Regions from separate parts of the Homo sapiens genome. Here region 2 is linked to region 1. Evidence: promoter capture Hi-C in 16 types of primary human blood cells and fetal thymus (Javierre and others, 2016). All regions are on one chromosome and are shown on one strand. The core of a region is centred on a gene start or on the middle of the fragment in contact, and the rest is flanking DNA. Distances in the headings are between cores, read along the strand shown.

Region 1 (4,565 bases), core at 1,929-4,428:
GGGAGTTCAAGACCAGCCTGACCAACATGGAGAAACCCTGTCTCTACTAAAAATACAAAATTAGCCGGGCGTGGCAGTGCATGCCTGTAATCCCAGCTACTCGGGAGGCCGAGGCAGGAGAATCGCTTGAACCCAAGAGGCGGAGGTTGAGATGAGCAGAGATTGCACCACTGCACTCCAGCCTGGGCAAGAAGAGCGAAACTCCATCTCAAAAAAAAAAATAGCTTGCTAAAAAGATAAAAACATACATACACACATACTAACTGAGTTGAGGGAGAGAGAGTATATAAGTCACAGAAGCTAAGGGATCGCCCCACCAAACCCATATAAGGTCTAGCCCCTCTGGAATTTATTCTGGCATCTAGTGTGAGCGAAGGGGCTAACACAAATTTTTTCCCAAAATAATTAACACAGGATTTCTCAGCCTCAACCCTGTTGACATTGGGCCTGCATCATTCTCTGGGGTGGGGCCGTCCTGTGCACTGAAGGGCTTTCAGCAGCATCTCTGGCCTCCACCCACTAGATGCCAGTAGTGCACACATAGTCTCACACACACATCCCCGCCCCCATCTGGGTACGACAACCAAAAATGTCTTCAGATATTGCCAAGTGTTCCCTGGGAAGGCAATATCACCGCTCCCCCGCCCCCCCGACACACACACACACACACACACACACACACACACACTCTCACACACACGCTGTTGAGAGCCACTGGTCAAATTTAGTGGTCATTGGGCAGGGCACGATGGCTCACATGTGTAAACCCAGCACTTTGGGAGGCTGAGGTGGGAGGATTGCTTGAGCTCAGGCGTTGGAGACCAGCCTGGGCAACATAGCAAGACCCCCATCTCCACAAAAAAATACAAAAATTACCCAGGCATATTGGTGCATGCCTGTAGTCCCAGCTACTCGGGAGGCTGAGGTGGGAGAATCACTTGAGCCCAGGAGTTCGAGGCTGCAGTGAGCCATGGCCATGCCACTGCACCCCAGCCTGGATGACAGGGCAAGAAATTAAAAAAAAAGAATTTGCTGGGCGCGGTGGCTCGCGCCTGTAATCCCAGCACTTTGGGAGGCCAAGGTGGGCAGGTCACGAGGTCAGGAGTTCGAGACCAGCCTGGCTAACATGGTGAAAGCCCGTCTCTACTAAAAATACAAAAATTAGCTGGTCATGGTGGTACGTACCTGTAATCTCAGCTACTGGGGCGGCTGAGCCAGGAGAATGGCTTGAACCCAGGAGGCAGAGGTTGCAGTGAGCCGAGATGGCACCACTGCACTCCAGCCTGGGTGACAGAGCAAGACTCTGTCAAAAAAAAAAAAAAAAAAAAAAAATTAGTGGCCATGGCAAATGTGAGGTCCCAACCACATGGCCAAGATGGCTTACCCCACCTCCCACCAGCAATACACCAAAGTCCTTGAGTGGGAAAGTCAAGGATGGGAGGCGAGGAGGAGACTTCCTGGGAGGGCGGGACTGGAGGCTGTCCAAGGAAGCAGCCCCAGGAGGCTTGACCTTCACATGAGGGGCAGCACAGGAAGTCCAGTCCAGCCTCTGATAATACTTAGACTCGAGAAAGATACAATTTATTGTTGACTCTGCAGGAGGGGAGACTATCGCCACCTTGTTAACTGGGTCATCGCATAATCAGACCCTGGAGGGTGGGCCTTCCTCACCACCCCAACTTGCAAATGTGAAATTCAGACACAGAGAGGAGCACCAGGGCAAGGTCATACACCTAATGCTACAGGAAATGCAGAGGCAAGGGAGATGGTGGGTAATAAATTATAATACTGAGCTGGGCGCAGTGGCTCATGCCTGGAATCCCAGCACTTTGGGAGGCTGAGGCAGGAGGATCTCTTGAGCTCAGGAGTTGGAGAGCAGCCTGGACAACATAGCGAGACCCCATCTCTACAAAAAATCTTGAAAATTAGCCAGGCGTGATGGCATGCACCTGCAGTCCCAGCTACTTGGGAGGCTGAGGTGAGAGGATTGCTTGAGCCCAGGACATTGAGGCTGCAGTGAGCTATGAGCATGCCACTGCACTACAGCCTGAGGGACAGAGCAAGACCCTGTCCGAAAATATATATATATAGGCCGGGCGCGTTGGCTCACGCCTGTAATCCCAGCACTTTGGGAGGCAGAGGTGGGCAGATGGCCTGAGGTCAGGAGTCTGAGACCAGCCTGAACAACATGGAGAAACTTTGTCTCTACTAAAAATACAAAAAAATTAGCCGGGCGTGGTGGCACATGCCTGTAATCCCAGCTACTCGGGAGGCTGAGGCAGGAGAATCGCTTGGACCTGGGAGGCTGAGGTTGTAGTGAGCCGAGATTGGGCCATTGCACTCCAGCCTGGGCGCCAAGAGCGAAACTCTGTCTCAAAAAAAAAAAAAAAAGGGTATAGATATAGATAAAGATAAATTACAATACTGGAGAGGAGGGGTGTTATTTTGGGAAAGCGAGGCAGCCCTGGGGACTCACTGTCCCCCTCCCAATATGAACCCAGCTGTCTTACTCCTCCACTCTCCTCCTTAGGCCAGGCTGGGGGTGACCCCACCTGGGACGAGCTCAATGCCCAGTAGAGGTGTACCAGGGGAGCCCACCAGCATCTGCACCCAATCATGGGAGGAAAATCGTGGTTTTACTATGCAGCTTCAGGACAAGCCCTCCAGGAACCTACCGCCCCCCACCCGCAAACCAGATCGCCGCTCCGGAGCCCCCAGCCCACTGGGAGGGCTCGCGGTTACTGCAAGGATTCTGGCGAATGAGGTCTAAATAGAATGAGAAGGGGGGCTGCGGACCGAGAAACTGAGGCAAGGCCTGGGGCGGGAGGGTGGAGGCTAAGGGGGAGGGGCAGGACTTCTCAGATGCCTGTTTACCAGGCGCTCCCCTCCCTTCCTCCGCCCAATTTCTGCGGGTGGCCAAGCCTGGCTGGGGGCTGGGACGGGGGAGACTGCACTGGTGGCTCCCTAAGGGGCCTCACCCCCAAGGCAGGGGTCGGAGCACGTGGCGTCCCGGACTTCTCTGGGAGGCCCCCTGGGGAGGGAGGTCCCTGCACCACCTCCCCCCACCCCAGCCCCCTCCATCATCCCGGGGCGGGACCAAGGGGCGGAGCGGGAGGGTGACCGGCCGTGACGCGTGCCCCGCCCGCTCATATAGCGGCTCCCGGGGGCGCAGGGACCGTGCTCCGCCGTCTCCGCCGCATCTTCCACCCTCGCCGCCGCCGCAGCTCCCCGCGCTCGTGCCACCGCCGCCGCGTCCACCCTCAGCGCCACCGCCATGCGGGAGATCGTGCACCTGCAGGCCGGCCAGTGCGGCAACCAGATCGGGGCCAAGGTGCTCGGGGAACGGGGCCCGGGGAGGCAGTGGCGGCCCCGGGGAGCACCGCGGGGTCGGTCCCCGGAGCACCCCGCAACCTGGGAGTCTTTGGAAAGGAATGAGGTCCCCAGGAGGCCAGCGCGCCCCAGGGGCCTTGGGGGAAGGGTCGCGGGGTGGGGGTGGCAGGGCCAGACTGGGAACAAAGAGGCTGCGGAGAGTGGGAGCCAGCCTTCTGTCCGCCTGTCACAGCTGGGCCCACAGCTGGGCCACTGTCCCCTCCTCACGCACAAAGAGCCCCGGTGCCTCCCCCGGGCTGCAGCCTGGGTGCGCTGGCACCAGCCGGCCCCGCTGGGTGCTGACTCGGCTGCACCCCGCCCCCACCGCTCCTTCTTGCTGCCTCATCCTCGCCCCGACACCATGCCTCTAGGTCCCCCGTTCACCTTGCTGGGGGAGAGGTGGCAGCTAGGGAGCTAGTTGGGGGCTGGGGGCAGTCCTCGGCTTGGCCACCGGCTTCCCCTCTCTCAACTCTTCCGACCACCTCTCTCTCTAGTTTTGGGAGGTTATCAGTGACGAACATGGCATCGACCCCACAGGCACATACCATGGGGACAGTGACCTGCAACTGGAGAGGATCAACGTGTACTACAACGAGGCCACAGGTAGGGCGAAGGAGGCACCTTCCAGGTGGGAAGGGGCAGCTGGGAGGGAACAGGATGCTACCGGGCGCCTGTGGTTCCTGGCACGCATCGAACTGCCCTCCATCTGTTTCCCTGCAGGAGGAAATTATGTCCCCAGAGCGGTGCTGGTGGACCTGGAACCCGGCACCATGGACTCTGTCCGTTCTGGCCCCTTCGGTCAGATCTTTCGGCCGGACAACTTCGTGTTTGGTGAGTCCCCCAGCAGGGAGCCAGAGGCTGGAAAACCTCCTTATTCCTGCTAACACCACAGAGTCAACAGCCACCACCGGGGCCCACAGACCAGAGATGGGGTGGACAGGGCACCAGGCACCAGCCCTGCATCCAGGGCTGTGATGAGGGGATGCTCAGGCCACTGTGAGAGCCCTGAGGAGGGCGGATACAGAGAAGGATTCAGGGAAGTCTTCCTGGAGGAGGTGGCATTTTAATTCAACGGTCTGAACCGGAACCAGACTGCCTGGGTGCACATCCCAATTCTGCCACTTCATGCATTCAACAAACAGTGAGCACTCACTGCATACCAGGCCCTGTTCTAGAAGCTGGAGATCCAGGTAAGA
Region 2 (5,127 bases), core at 1,447-3,946, 390 kb before region 1:
TGTGTATGCAGACCACATTGAGTTCAACCATTCATCTGTTGACGGACACTGAGGTGGATTCCATATCTTGACTATTGTGAATAGTGGAGTTGGGTTTTTTATCAAAGAAAGATGGGAGTCATGGGAGGATTTCGAGCAGAGTAGGGACACAACATAAGGTTTTAACATGAGCCTTCTGGCCACTGGTTGGAAGACGAACTATAGAAGATCAGAAATAAACTGACCAAGGAGGGGGTGACTGCACTTGTCCAGGTGAAAGATGTCAGTAGATACAACCCAGAGGGAATCAATGAAGGGAATGCAATTCAGGATTTTTTTAAAGCAACACTAACAAAATTTGCCGATGGATTGGATGTGAGGAGTGAAAAGAGAGGAACCAACGATAATGCCAACATCAATTAGGAGTATGGAAAAACTAAAAAGTATCATAAAAACAGAAGGAATGGATTATCGTGATTGTGACATTATTCACCCTGTTTTTGTTACACATTTGGTTTTGAGATCTACGTTCTTTGCTCCTATAATGTGCCTTGTTTATTTCCCTTCCCTGCATGAGGCCTCAGATGGTATCTCTCTTCTCATTTCCAGCTTCCTCTTTCATCTGTAGAGGCAACATTTCTCTATGCAGACTTCCGGCATTTTATCACTTGTGGTCTCTTAATGCTGTAAGTTTCCCATCATTCTCTTCCACTAGCCCTCTCCCTCACAACTGAAACCCACCAAGGTCAGAGTAACAACCCGGTCTTGTGGGACTAGGTACCTGTCCACCTCCCCATCTCATCTCCTGCCCTGTGTCATCAGTCACACTCACCTTCGCTCGGTCCTCCAAATTCTTTCCAACCTCAGGACCTTTGCACCCACCGTTCTGGCCACCAGACATGCCCTATCCCACCCTGCCCCTTTGCCTGGGTAACATCAATTCATCCATCCTTTAAGTCCACTGGAACATCACTTCCTTGAGAAAATTTTCCCAACCATCTCAATAAAGCCCTTTTGAAAAAGTCCTACAAAGGGGCCAGGCGCAGTGGCTCATGCCTGTAATCCCAGCACTTCGGAAGGCTGGGGTGAGCAGATCACCTAAGGAGTTCAAGACCAGCCTGGTTTCTAGTGAAACCCCGTCTCTACTAAAAATACAAAAAAATTAGCCAGGCGTGGTGGCGGGCGCCTGTAGTCCCAGCTACTCGGGAGGCTGAGGCAGGAGAATGGCGTGAACCTGGAAGGCGGAGCTTGCAGTGAACCGAGATCGCACCACTGCACTCCAGCCTGGGCAACAGAGCGAGAATCTATCTCAAAAAAAAAAAAAAAATGTGAAAGATGAGCTGTTAACACAATATAGACCAAGTTGCTAAGTTGCCCAAAGAAGAACCAGGAAACAGAGACACTGGGAACAGTTGTATTAGTCTGTTTTCATGCTGCTAATAAAGACATACCCGAGACTAGGTAATTTATAAGGGAACGAGGTTTAATTTGACTCACTGTTGCACATGGCTGGGGAGGCTTCACAATCATGAGGAGCAAAATTATGTCTTACTTACATGGCAGGAGGCAAGAGAGCTTGTGCGGGGATCTCCCATTTATAAAACCATCAGATCTCGTGAGACTTACTCACTACCACGAGAACAGTATGGGGGAAACCATCCCCCATGATTCAATTATCTCCAACTGGCCCCGCCCTTGACACGTGGGGATTCTTACAATTTAAGGTGAGATTTGGGTGAGGACATAGCCAAACCATATCAACAACTACGAACTGACAATGTCTTTCTTCCTTTATCCAGCAAGAGTTTATGTAGATGAGAGTATTTAACAAAACATAAAGAAGTCACTTTTTTTTTGCACATTGAGTTGTAGTTTGAGTAAATTCCATCCCTACTCTCACTACACTACCATTTATAAAGCTCATACTACATACCAGGTGGTTTCCAAAGCTACCTCTTTGAATTAAAGTTTCACAACATCCCTATTGTTATCTGTATTTCACAGCTTGGGAAACTGAAGTTCAGAGAGGTTATGTGACTTATCTGAGATCACACAGCAATTCTAAGCACAAAGGAAAGAGCCTGAAGTGAGAATCAGGAGACTTGCATGTTAACCCTTGCTCTGCCGCTAACTAGCTCCCAGCAAGCATCTGGATGAGGCTCAGCTTCCTGGGATGTTTCCCCGGGGAGAAAACTTTCTCTACCCCTTCAGGCATCTGCATTCTCTCTGGCCAACTTACCCTTTGTGTTTGGTTTCCGTGTGGGTCTTATGTGCCCTTCCCAGCTGTGCATAACACAACATCCTGTGAAGAAAGAAAAGAAAAACACCATGAACCACCAAAAAAAAAAAAAAAAAAAAAAACCTTTTGGGCTCAACCTGCAAAATTACTCCTGGCTTGGCCCCACAGAAATAGGTTTGAAGAGGCTAGATGACAAACCTAGTTAAGGAACAAACATACACTATTTTGCATAAGCTTAACAATGACCATTCCTGGTTTTCTGTACTTTGCTTTTGCTTTTCATTTTGTCTGTCTTTATCTTCTTTTTCTTTTTGATTAAATAGTTCCAGGCTAAGCACTGTGGTGCACACCTATAATCCCAGCCCTTCGGGAGGCCAAGGTGGGAGGATCACTTGAGACCAGCAGTTTGACACCGGCCTGGACAACACAGTGAGACTTTGTCTCTACAAAAAAAAAATTTTTTAAATTAGCTGGGTGGTGGTGACAACTTGTAGCCCCAGCTACTCAGGAGGCTGAGGTGGAAGGATTGCTTGAGCCCAGGAGATAGAGACTGCAGTGAGCCAAGATCATGCCACTGCGCTCCAGCCTAGGTGACCCTGTCTAAAAAAAAAAGTTCTAGCTGATTTTCAAAAACATACATTAAAGCATGCATTCTCAAAAGGGGTGATATATCCTCTAAGGACCCAAACTTGGTTCTCAGGAAGAGATCTTTTTAAGCTTACTCTTTTATGTATAAGATACATATGTATATATAGAAAATACATATATAGGTATACAGTATATCTGTAGTATTAACATTTCATGAGAGGGTAGGGCAATTCGTTTTTCTTTCCTTTTTTTTTTTTTTTTTTTTTTTGAGATGGAGTCTCACTCTGTCACCAGGCTGGAGTGCAGTAGCGTGATCTAGGCTCACTGCAACCACCAACTCCCTGGTTCAAGCTATTCTCCTGCCTCAGCCTCCCGAGTAGCTGGGATTACAAGCACGCACCACCACGCCCAGCTAATTTTTGCATTTTTAGTAGAAACGGGGTTTCTCCATGTTGGCCAGGATGGTCTCGATCTCCTGACCTCATGATCTGCCTGCCTCAGCCTCCTAAAGTGCTGGGATTACAAGCGTGAGCCACTGCGCCCTGCCCATTTTTTAGTGTTTAAAGGCAATGCAGCCCTGCAGCATTTAGGTCTCCTGCACCATCATCATTATCGCCATCATTATCACTATCATCATCACCATCATCATCTTCATCATCACCATCATCATCATCATTATTATCACCATCATCACCATTATCATCATCACCATCACCATTATCACCATCACCACCATCATCATCATCACCACCATAATCACCAACATCACCATCTTCATCGTCATTATCACACCATCATCACCACCATCATCATCATTATCCCTATCATCACCATTATCATCATCACCATCATCACCATCTTCATGGTCATTATCACACCATCATCATCACCATCATCTTCATTATCACTATCATCACCATTATCATCATCATCATCATCACCATCACCATCATCATCACCATTTTCATCATCACTATTATAACCACCACCATCATGATCATTATCATCACTATCATTATCACAACTCTTTGCTGATTATCTTCAGGGCAGAATAGGGAGTGTTAATGGTTAATACCATTGCCAACACCCCAAAATAACAACTCTGCATGCCTACATTTGATGTCCACAGGCCACCTATTTCTTCTAATGTAGCCTGCCAGTCAACAAGTCCCACAGATCTAAACTCCCAAATTCTATCTATTATTACTAACAAAAATTCTTCTACTCATTCATTAATTATTTTAGAGGTAATTCAGCATGCTGTTTAGGCATACAAAGTCTGAAGTCAAAGTGCTTAGGTTTAAAAATCTGGCTTCACCAATTAATGATTGCGTGGCCTTGAGGAAGTTATTTAATCTCTTTGTGCCTCAGTTTCCTCCTTGGTAAAATAGGGTATTCAGATCCACTCTTCAACAGCAGAGGAAACCCATACTTGCTACTTAGAATATGTCCCCAATATCCTCCATTCTTAAATTTGATCCAATGACCAAAACACACAAGACATAGAAGAAAAACCAGAAACACAGAAGATAAACAAGGCTGAGACAAACTGACACCTGAAGAAAGAGAAATAAGAGCACAGGAAGGGTCTATCTCATCCTTCAGGACTCAGCTCGAACTGCCCCTCCTCAACCCCAGACTTCTCCCTTCAACATAACTCCCGACCACATTCTATAACAACTTCTTTCATAGCACTTATCACTACCTGAAATTCCTATGTTTACTTATTTTTTGGGGCAACATAGTATAGTGGAAAAGCTTACAGACTCTGAAGTCAGACTGTCTGGCTTGAAATCCTGCCTCTACCCCTTATTGACTAAGTGGCCTTGGGAAAATTATTTTATCTCTTTTGCCTCAGTTTTCTCATTTGCAAAATAGGACTAATAATGACCCAATGTCATAGAAATGTTGTGACAATTGGATACACTCTATGTTTAAAGAAGTTACAGCAGTGCTAAGTGGGCTATGATCATCTGTGCCTTCTTTCCTGTCTGCTCCTACCCACTAGAATATCAGCCTCAAGAGTGCAGGAACTTAGTCTTTTTTTCTCACTGCTATATCCTCTAGTGCCTAGAACAGCACCTGACACACAGGACTTGCTCAGGTCAAATGAATGACTATAGAGAAAAATCTATCCTAACAGATGGACTTCCCTGAGCTATGGAATTTTGTCAAAGGTTCCCTGAATGAAGGTGTTTGCAGCATCCAGTCTGGACTTATGATCTCTTGGCTGGACCATCCATGGCCCTCCCATTTCTCCTGAAGTCTATTTCCAATCCAGGCCTCCCCTAGCCCCCCATTCAGCCTCACACTCACCCCAG

Evidence for each region. The method cuts DNA at HindIII sites, captures the fragments that hold promoters and counts their contacts. A CHiCAGO score of 5 or more calls a contact.
Region 2: a contact is called between a fragment that was not itself captured here and the fragment with the promoter of TUBB4A in region 1, in 1 of 17 cell types (activated CD4 T cells). The highest score is 5.4, in activated CD4 T cells.

What each region holds. Positions count from the first base shown.
Region 1 is chr19:6,500,922-6,505,486 of GRCh38, reverse strand. It overlaps TUBB4A (tubulin beta 4A class IVa), which reads left to right and starts at 3,178. Exons shown (of 4, transcript NM_006087.4): 1 at 3,178-3,331; 2 at 3,864-3,972; 3 at 4,090-4,200. The coding sequence starts at 3,275. RefSeq lists a cis regulatory region at 300-777, an enhancer at 655-794 and silencers at 2,922-3,191, 3,202-3,381, 3,552-3,661. The HindIII fragment of the contact is 23,046 bases long and covers 1-4,565 here.
Region 2 is chr19:6,887,635-6,892,761 of GRCh38, reverse strand. ADGRE1 (adhesion G protein-coupled receptor E1) reads right to left here. Exons shown (of 21, transcript NM_001974.5): 1 at 5,123-5,127; 2 at 2,219-2,281. Among named protein-coding and RNA genes, the nearest start is that of ADGRE1, 2.6 kb to the right of the region's middle. The HindIII fragment of the contact is 483 bases long and covers 2,455-2,937 here.